Regions from separate parts of the Homo sapiens genome. Here regions 2 and 3 are each linked to region 1. Evidence: promoter capture Hi-C in 16 types of primary human blood cells and fetal thymus (Javierre and others, 2016). All regions are on one chromosome and are shown on one strand. The core of a region is centred on a gene start or on the middle of the fragment in contact, and the rest is flanking DNA. Distances in the headings are between cores, read along the strand shown. Region 1 holds the start of CELA1 (chymotrypsin like elastase 1). Region 2 overlaps TFCP2 (transcription factor CP2). Region 3 overlaps TFCP2 (transcription factor CP2).

What was found. The method cuts DNA at HindIII sites, captures the fragments that hold promoters and counts their contacts. A CHiCAGO score of 5 or more calls a contact.
Region 2: a fragment that was not itself captured here is called in contact with the fragment with the promoter of CELA1 in region 1 in 2 of 17 cell types (M1 macrophages and M2 macrophages); the score reaches 6.4 in M1 macrophages.
Region 3: a fragment that was not itself captured here is called in contact with the fragment with the promoter of CELA1 in region 1 in 4 of 17 cell types (M1 macrophages, naive CD4 T cells, activated CD4 T cells and 1 more); the score reaches 6.0 in M1 macrophages.

The regions. Positions count from the first base shown.
Region 1 is chr12:51,345,243-51,347,942 of GRCh38, forward strand. CELA1 (chymotrypsin like elastase 1) reads right to left here and starts at 1,437. Exons shown (of 8, transcript NM_001971.6): 1 at 1,381-1,437; 2 at 553-635. The coding sequence starts at 1,396. The HindIII fragment of the contact is 4,543 bases long and covers 1-2,700 here.
Region 2 is chr12:51,137,257-51,139,956 of GRCh38, forward strand. The region is part of intron 1 of TFCP2 (transcription factor CP2); the gene reads right to left. Among named protein-coding and RNA genes, the nearest start is that of TFCP2, 35 kb to the right of the region's middle. The HindIII fragment of the contact is 1,352 bases long and covers 628-1,979 here.
Region 3 is chr12:51,115,313-51,118,012 of GRCh38, forward strand. TFCP2 (transcription factor CP2) reads right to left here. Exons shown (of 15, transcript NM_005653.5): 3 at 2,359-2,435; 4 at 1,003-1,108. Among named protein-coding and RNA genes, the nearest start is that of CSRNP2, 33 kb to the left of the region's middle. The HindIII fragment of the contact is 5,289 bases long and covers 1-2,700 here.

The DNA.
Region 1 (2,700 bases), core at 187-2,686:
TAAAACTCTGATTGCAGTGATATCTTCTCAAAGTGTGGATCTTCATCAGTTAATTTGCCAGGTTTACATATTTAGATCACTTAAATCAGGGCCCAGCTGCCCTGTTAGCAAAGTGGAAACTCTAAATAGCCAACTAAGCAGCATGCTGTACGTGTGTGTGTGTGTGTGTGCGCGCACATGCGTGCAAGCATTGTGACACACACAGTGTGGAGTGGTGTGCGTGTGAGTTTCAAGGTATGTGGAGTCCAAGGTGACTGTCTGGCACCCAGTCTTTCTTGCGTGGCACAAGTGCTGTCGCTGAGAATATAAATGTATCTTGTGTTTGGGTGTGTGCCTTGAAGAGGGACTGTGGTTGGTGTATAAATCCCCTCCTCCAAGCCTTTTGCATTTAGAAAACCACCTAAGCCTGATCCCATCCATCTTTAAAATCGAGAACCTAGACAATTGGAGAGCTGCTTGTTGATAGGGACATGCACAAATACACATGATACCTTATGTCATGCACTGAGCTCTTATTTGGGTGGAAGTCTGGGGCTGGGAAGGAACACCCACCTGAGAGGGCCAGGAATTCCTCCCGGCCTCAGTCCCTCCGACTACGCGGGCATTGGTTTCCGGAAGGTCCTGGGTGCTGTGTCCTTTGTGGGGCAGAAGAAAAGTGAGTGATGACTAAGCATGGGGTCAGCCAGGGGTAGGGGTGGGGGGTGGCGATTGTGCTTTGAGGAATGTTAGCCTTGTCTGCAAATTCACAGTTCCTCTCTAACGAATGAGGGGCCCAGCTGTGAGTTCTCTGAGCCCCTTTTGAAAACAGGGGTGCCTGGGTGCCTTCTGTTTCCCCCAGGTGTTCCCAGAACTCCGGCATGCTATGAAGGACCTCTCTCAAACCACCAGGCTAGGCCCCAGAGGCTCCTTGTGGTCTCCTCTTTGCTCAAGATCACCCTTTGGCCTGAAGAGACCCCCCCCCACTCTTTGACCCCCACCAGCCCCCTAATGCTTTGGCAAGATTCTCCAGGGTTCAGGGCCTGCAGTGCACACCCCAGCCAGGCACCTGCTGAGGAAGTCCTCCTGTCAATGGGGGTGGTGGGGAAGCCCAGGGACCCACCCCACTACCAGATGGGGCTTCTCTCTGCTTTGTGGCCCAGGGACCTGCCACCCAGAGGGGCCTGAATAGCCAGTGGCCCTGACCTTTTCTATCTTGGCCTCCAGGAGAGTAAAGGACGCTCTGCAGGCAGAGCGTCCCACCTGCCCTGGGACAGGGTGCTGGCCTGGACTTAGGGAAAATTTGCTGACCTTCCTGCCCAAGTCCCCCTCCCTATAGACCTCAGGCCACATGATCCACTTACCATAAAGGACCAGGGTTGCGACTGGACCATATCCACTTACCATAAAGGACCAGCATGTTGCCGATGGAGTAGACCACTGCCTTCTTGCTTGGACCAAGCCCTCTTTATACTCCTCTTAGCAGCAAAGCTGACTGTCTTCTTGCCAACTGGCAGGGCTGAGGGTGCAAGGCAGGGAAAATCACAAGTGACATGGAAATACAAATGAAAATATTTCTTTTCAAGTAAACTAATGTATCTGTTATTCAAAGACAGAACAAGGCCAGGGCTGAATTAATCATCTGCTTTTAATTGAAAAGCATCCAACAAACTCTTTTTCAGAAATAAGATGGAGAACCAGGGCTGGTTTTTCTCTAAGGGAGCACCCCTTGTCATCCATCACTCTCTCGTTGTCCTCAGTGGCACCATAAATGCAGAGACTTGCCCTGTGCACTAGCAGCTGGAGGCCAGGGGGATAGTGGAAGAGGGGGGAGTGGTTAGCAAGGGCAAGGAAGACACAGCAACTCTCTCTGCCCAAAGAGGGAGATGGCACATGCCCCCAGGATGCAGGCATAGGTGTAAATGCAGACACAAAAGCCAAATAGATGCAGTGGAGATAATTCTGGGGGAGGAAAGTACTGAGAAACAGGCTTGGGCCCTCTCAGATGGAGAGCCAAGAAGGGGCTCCCAGAGGAGAATATGAGGCAGGGTAGAGGAGGGGATCCTTGGGATGTGAAGACAGTCTGAGGGCTATGAGGGTAGATGGAGGGTGGAGGGCAGAGGGAGAACGAGGGTAGGAGCCGAGGTTCCTGCAGGAGATGAAAGGCTTTGTTCATCACAGTTCGTAGAGGAGAGAGAAGGGAGTTGCGGCCGGGCGCGGTGGTTTACGCCTGTAATCCCAGCACTTTGGGAGGCTGAGGCGGGCGGATCACAAGATCAAGAGATCGAGACCATCCTGGCCAACATGGCGAAACCCCGTCTACTAAAAATACAAAAATTGGCCGGGCGCGGTGGCTCATGCCTGTAATCCCAGCACTTTGGGAGTCGGAGGCGGGCGGATCACGAGGTCAGGAGATTGAGACTACTCTGGCTAACACAGTGAAACCCCGTCTCTACTAAAAAAATACAAAAAATTAGCTGGGCGTGGTGGCAGGCGCCTGTAGTCCCAGCTCCTCGGGAGGCGCAGGCAGGAGAATGGCGTGAGCCCGGGAGGCGGAGCTTGCAGTGAGCCGAGATCGCGCCACTGCACTCCAACCTGGGCGACAGAGCGAGACTCCATCTAAAAAAAAACAAAAACAAAATACAAAAATTAGCTGGGCATGGTGGTGCGCTTCTGCAGTCCCAGCTAATCTGGAGGCTGAGGCAGGAGAATCGCTTCAACCTG
Region 2 (2,700 bases), core at 54-2,553, 210 kb before region 1:
TCTCACATTTCCACTCTGCTGAATTATTTGCCAACTACCAATTATTTATACCTACCAGAAATGTGCTTTTATTTTCCTTTAGCTTATAAAGTCACTAAACACATCTAATTTTTGCTAACCTTATTTATTTTGGAAGCTGAAAAGTATCTGTGTCAGATACAAATTTACTTCCAGGGAGCTTGTAAGATATTAAAAGTTTAATCAAAGAAATCTGAATCAGCAAAGCCCTACCTCAGGAGATTTACTAGATATAGGCCTACCTTCTTAGTTTTTTTCATACATTATAGGATTAGCATTTACCAGCCTACAGATCTCATTAAAACACTGCTAATTGAAAACATCACCTGTGGCATCATTAGTACTAGGCTCTTTTATTAAATTTCTGAAATCACTGACTCTTTCCAGTTAGGCAAAAAATGGCAACTCGCAGCAATATTCATAGGCTATATGTTGAAGGGAATCTGACTATTTTGATACAGAAAATAGAACTCCCATTTCAGTATTCAAAGATCAAATGTATATCATCATAGTATGGCATAACTGGGAAAACACCAACAGTTTTGTTTTGTTTTGTTTTCTTGGGACTAAGGGAATCCACACTTAGCCCTTTATAGTGCTGAGCCTCAAAGCTTCTTTTCCGATCCAAAATGTCTACCAGCTCATGCTTTCTTCCCTCTTGCAGTCAGGCTTCCATCTTCACTGGCAAGCATCACTATTACCTCTCTATACTTGAGAGTTCTTATGTCTTGCTCATCCTGTACTCCCTACCATGCCTGGCTTCAAAGTAGGACAATCTCTCTAGTCCCTCATTCCTCCCCTTAATGAAAGGCAAGCACAGACACTTTTCTGTGTATTTATTTATTTTCTATTTTTCTCTGTGTGTGTTTTGTTTGTTTGTTTTTTGAGATGGAGTAGCACTCTGTCGCCCAGGCTGTAGTGCAATGGCACTATCTCGGCTCACTACAACCTACGACTTCCACGTTCAAGTGATTCTCCCGCCTCGGCCTGTCGAGTAGCTGGGATTACAGGCGCACTCCTATAATCCCATGTAAACCATGCCTGGCTAATTTTTGTATTTTTAGTAGAAATGGGGTTTCACCACATTGGCCAAGCTGGTCTCAAACTCCTGGCCTTAAGTGATCCAACCGCCTCGGCCTCCCAAATTGTTGGGATTACAGGTGTGAACCACTGTGCCTGGCCTAGTTTTCTGTGTTTTAAGGCTTTAATTGCCGATGACTTTCAGGAAAATCCTGAAAGTACCAGAATAGTTAGTCCTATGAAATGGTAAATAGGCTCTAACCATCTCTCCTCTTTTATGCTAAAAGTGATAGGACTTACGAACATTTCTCCTCCTTCAGACCACATTTCTTTTTTCTTTTGAGACCAAGTTTCGCTCTGTTGCCCAGGCTGGAGTGCAATGGTGAGAGGCTGGAGTGCAATGGCATGATCTTGGCTCACCACAACATCCGCCTCCCGGGTCCAAGCGATTCTCCTGCCTCAGCCTCCTGAGTAGCTGGGATCACAGGTGTGCGCCACCACACCTGGCTAACTTTCTATTTTCACTAGAGACGGGGTTTCTCCATGTTGGTCAGGCTGTTCTCGAACTCCCAACCTCAGGTGATCCACCAGCCTCGGCCTCCCAAAGTGCTGGGATTACAGGTGTGAGCCACCATGCCCGGCCAGACCACATTTCTGATGAAGGAAGGCCTTTTCTTCTAAAATGGCCAGCAAATTCCCTAGAGATGTAACCAGTTAGACCTGATGATGCAATCAAAGCAGAAATGTTATTTGCCCCTTGTCTTTTATAGACAGAGAGTAAATTTGTATTTCTAAGGATATGCAGAGCAGAAGACACCCAGTTTACTAAGCCTCAACCCTCCTCAGGCATGATAACTAGCTTTTTATCATTATCCTCTAACCTGCAGCCAGAGTAACTTTTTAAAAAGGTAAATCTAGAAATGTCCCTTCTCTGTTTATAAAGCTTCAGTGGTTTCCCAACGCAATCATGATAAAGTGCTAACTCTTCAACATGGCTCCCAAAACTCTTCAAAACTGGGCCCAGTTTACCTTTTCAGTCTCATCTCTCACCATACTTCCCATCTCTCTTTTCCCTTTATCTACATATGTATAGTGAGACGGCGTCTTGCTCTGTTGCCCAGGCTGGAGAGCAGTGGCGTGATCATAGCTCACTGCAAGTCTCAAACTCCTGGGCCCAATCAATCCACCCACCTCAGCCTCAGCCTCCCAAGTAGCTAGGACTATAGGCACACACCACCACACCTGGCTCATCTTTTAATTTTTTGTACAGACAGGGCCTCACTATGTTGCCCAGACTGGTGCTGAACTCCTGGCCTCTCAGGATCCTCCTGCCTCAGCCTCCTAAAGTGCTGACATGACAGACAGGAGACACTGCACCTGGCCTCTTTGACTTTTTTAAAAGATTCAGCAGACAAACTGCAGTTCTTTCCCTTGCCCCCAGGCCTTGGGGTCCACCTGCTCTCTTCTACCTCAACTCAATTGCTATGATTCATTTTTTGCACATAAATTTCCATTTAATTCATACAATAATGCTGTGAGGTAGGAGGAATTGTCTCCTCCTCACCATTTTCCAACTGAAGGAACTGAGGCTACAGTAATTAGAAATGTTAAATGATGTGCCCAAGGTTACACAGCTATTAAATACTGGATTTACAAATGAGT
Region 3 (2,700 bases), core at 93-2,592, 230 kb before region 1:
GGTTTCACCATGTTAGCCAGGATGGTCTCGATTTCCTGACCTCATGTTCTGCCCACCTTGGCCTCCCAAAGTTTTGGGATTACAGGCGTGAGCCATCGCGCCCGGCCGAAATTGGAACCTTTGAGTACCGCTGGTAGAAATGTAAAATGTGTAGTCACTGTGGAAAACAATATAGTGGTTTCTAAAAAAAATCTAAGATAGAGTTACCATATGACCCAGCAATTCCATTTCTGGATATGTATCCAAAAGAATTAAAAGCAGAGACTCAAACACATATTTGTACATCCATGTTCATAGCAGCATTATTCACAATAGCCAGGAAATGGAATCAAATTAAGTGCCTATCATGGGATGAATGGATAAACAAAGTGTGATATATACACACAATGGAGTATTATTCAGCCTTGCATGGGAAGGAAATGCTAATGTATGCTATACCATGAACCTTGAAAACATTATGCTAAGTGAAAAATGCCAGTCACAAAAGGACAAATACTGTATGATTTCATTTATGCAGTACTTAGTAGTCCAATTCATAGAGACAGAAAGGAGAATAGTGGTTACCAGGGGCTGTGAAGAAGGGAGAATGGGGAGTTGTTGTTTAACAGGTACAGACTTCTGGTTTTGCAGATGAGAAAAGTTCTGGAGATGGATGATAGTGATGGTTACACAATAATGTGAATGTACCTAATGTTACTGAACTATCCACTTAAAAATGGTTAAAATGATAACTTTTATGTAATGTATATTTTACCACAACTTAAAAAACAACAAAATCAACCTATAGTTGCTATGGAACTAAAGTGTTTACACTTCCAACTTCAATTTTGATATCATTTTAACTTGTATTACTTAAAATTTTTTATGCTTAGTAAATAATTTCAAGGTTTATACTAATTGAGCCTCTCAAGCATATGAATCAAGGTAAATGTCAAATAAAGAAAACCAACTCTGGGTCCATAGCTAAAGGCATTTCCTAGGCAATAGATTCTCTTAACTCACCTATGTCAAGAATTCTGTCTCCAGGTCGGTTCCACCTCCAGCCCTCTAGCTGCTGATGCTCAGTGTACTGAAGCCTTCTGTCATGGAACACCACACGGAATATACTCTAAAAGGATACAACAAAATCAGATGATAACAAGACCTCTTGAAAATCAGTGCTGACAAAGAAAAACTAGCAGGATTCACTGCCAGTTTGTTTCTAAACGCAATCTAAAATTATTTTTCTTAAGATCTGTTTCACTCTAAAACCCATACCATACTAAGTGCTATTTCAGGATAAAATTTTATAATTTCTCAGATATAATCTTTTTTTTTTTTTTTGAAACAGATTTTGCTCTTGTTGCCCAGGTTGGAGTGCAATGGTGTGATCTCGGCTCACCGCAACCTCCACCTCCCGGGTTCAAGGAATTCTCCTGCCTCAGCCTCCTGAGTAGCTGGGATTACAGGCATGTGCTACCACGCCTGACTAATTTTGTATTTTTTGTAGAGACAGGGTTTCTCCATGTTGGTCAGGCTGGTCTCAAACTCCCAACCTCAGGCGACCCGCCCGCCTCAGCCTCTCAAAGTGCTGGGACTATAGGCGTGAGCCACCGGGTCCAGCCAATTTCTCAGATAGAATCTTTATAGTTAACTGGTACCATATTTAAAACTTGGCTTAAACTTCAGTCCGATGGTAACTAGGAATAAAGTACTCCTGTCTGAAGCGTTTCTGCACACCTCTTCTGTTATACCACGGCCTATCTGGCTTAGCTCTTCAGATGTATATGAAAAACTCACCAACTCCCCCGCTTGCTAACCCACCATACAACCTGTAAACACTGAGGGTAGGTAGAGCCTGTTTCCATCAACTTTCCTTTTGTTACTCTTACTTTGTAGAAGTGCCTATTAATTCCTCCCACCACCTTTTGACAAAACTCCTCTGTTTCAACTGTGCTGTGAATTATCAAAATCCTAACTGTTAATCTAGACTAAGAGAACTGCTCTTCATCAAAGTAGCTTCTGTTTTCCTTGCTATAAGACTAAGTATCAAAAAAGACACTGAGGCTTCTCTAAAGATCTCAAGGAGGTTACTTTACTCCACCCAAAAGAACTTCACTGAGCCAGGGGTGATTACCCTGGACAGGGAGTGGTAAGCGTTCTATTTCTGCAGCTCTGAAAAATTCATGTGAATACTGGGGCTTACTCTGACCCCAAAGAAATAACACATCAGCTTACTACTCTGCCAACAAATTACTGCAGGCAAGAGATACCATTAAGCCATTGGAAGCAAAAGAACATTAACAACAACAACAAAATTTAAAATCCCAAAAGGATTAGTAAAAAATATTGTACAGAAGAATGATTTATTCGTTTTACCTTCACCAATTTGCCATTAATTTCTGGAAGTTCTCCAAGTTTCCTATTGTCTAGCATTCGAATTTCATAAGACTGTCCTAGAAGAAAAAGTAATTACATATTATATTCACCACAAATTAACTTTGCTAGATTCGGAAAGAATAAAATTCAGTTGGTTGAATATACAACAGTATAATAATATTATTAGTATTAGTAACAACAATCAGAAGCCTTTACAAGATGCTCAGCACTGTGCTAAGTATTGTCACATTATCTCATTTAACTGATATACTTTTCTAAGGTATTATCAATCCCATTTTACAGACAAAGAAATTGAAACTTAAAAGAGTTTTAGCAACTTGT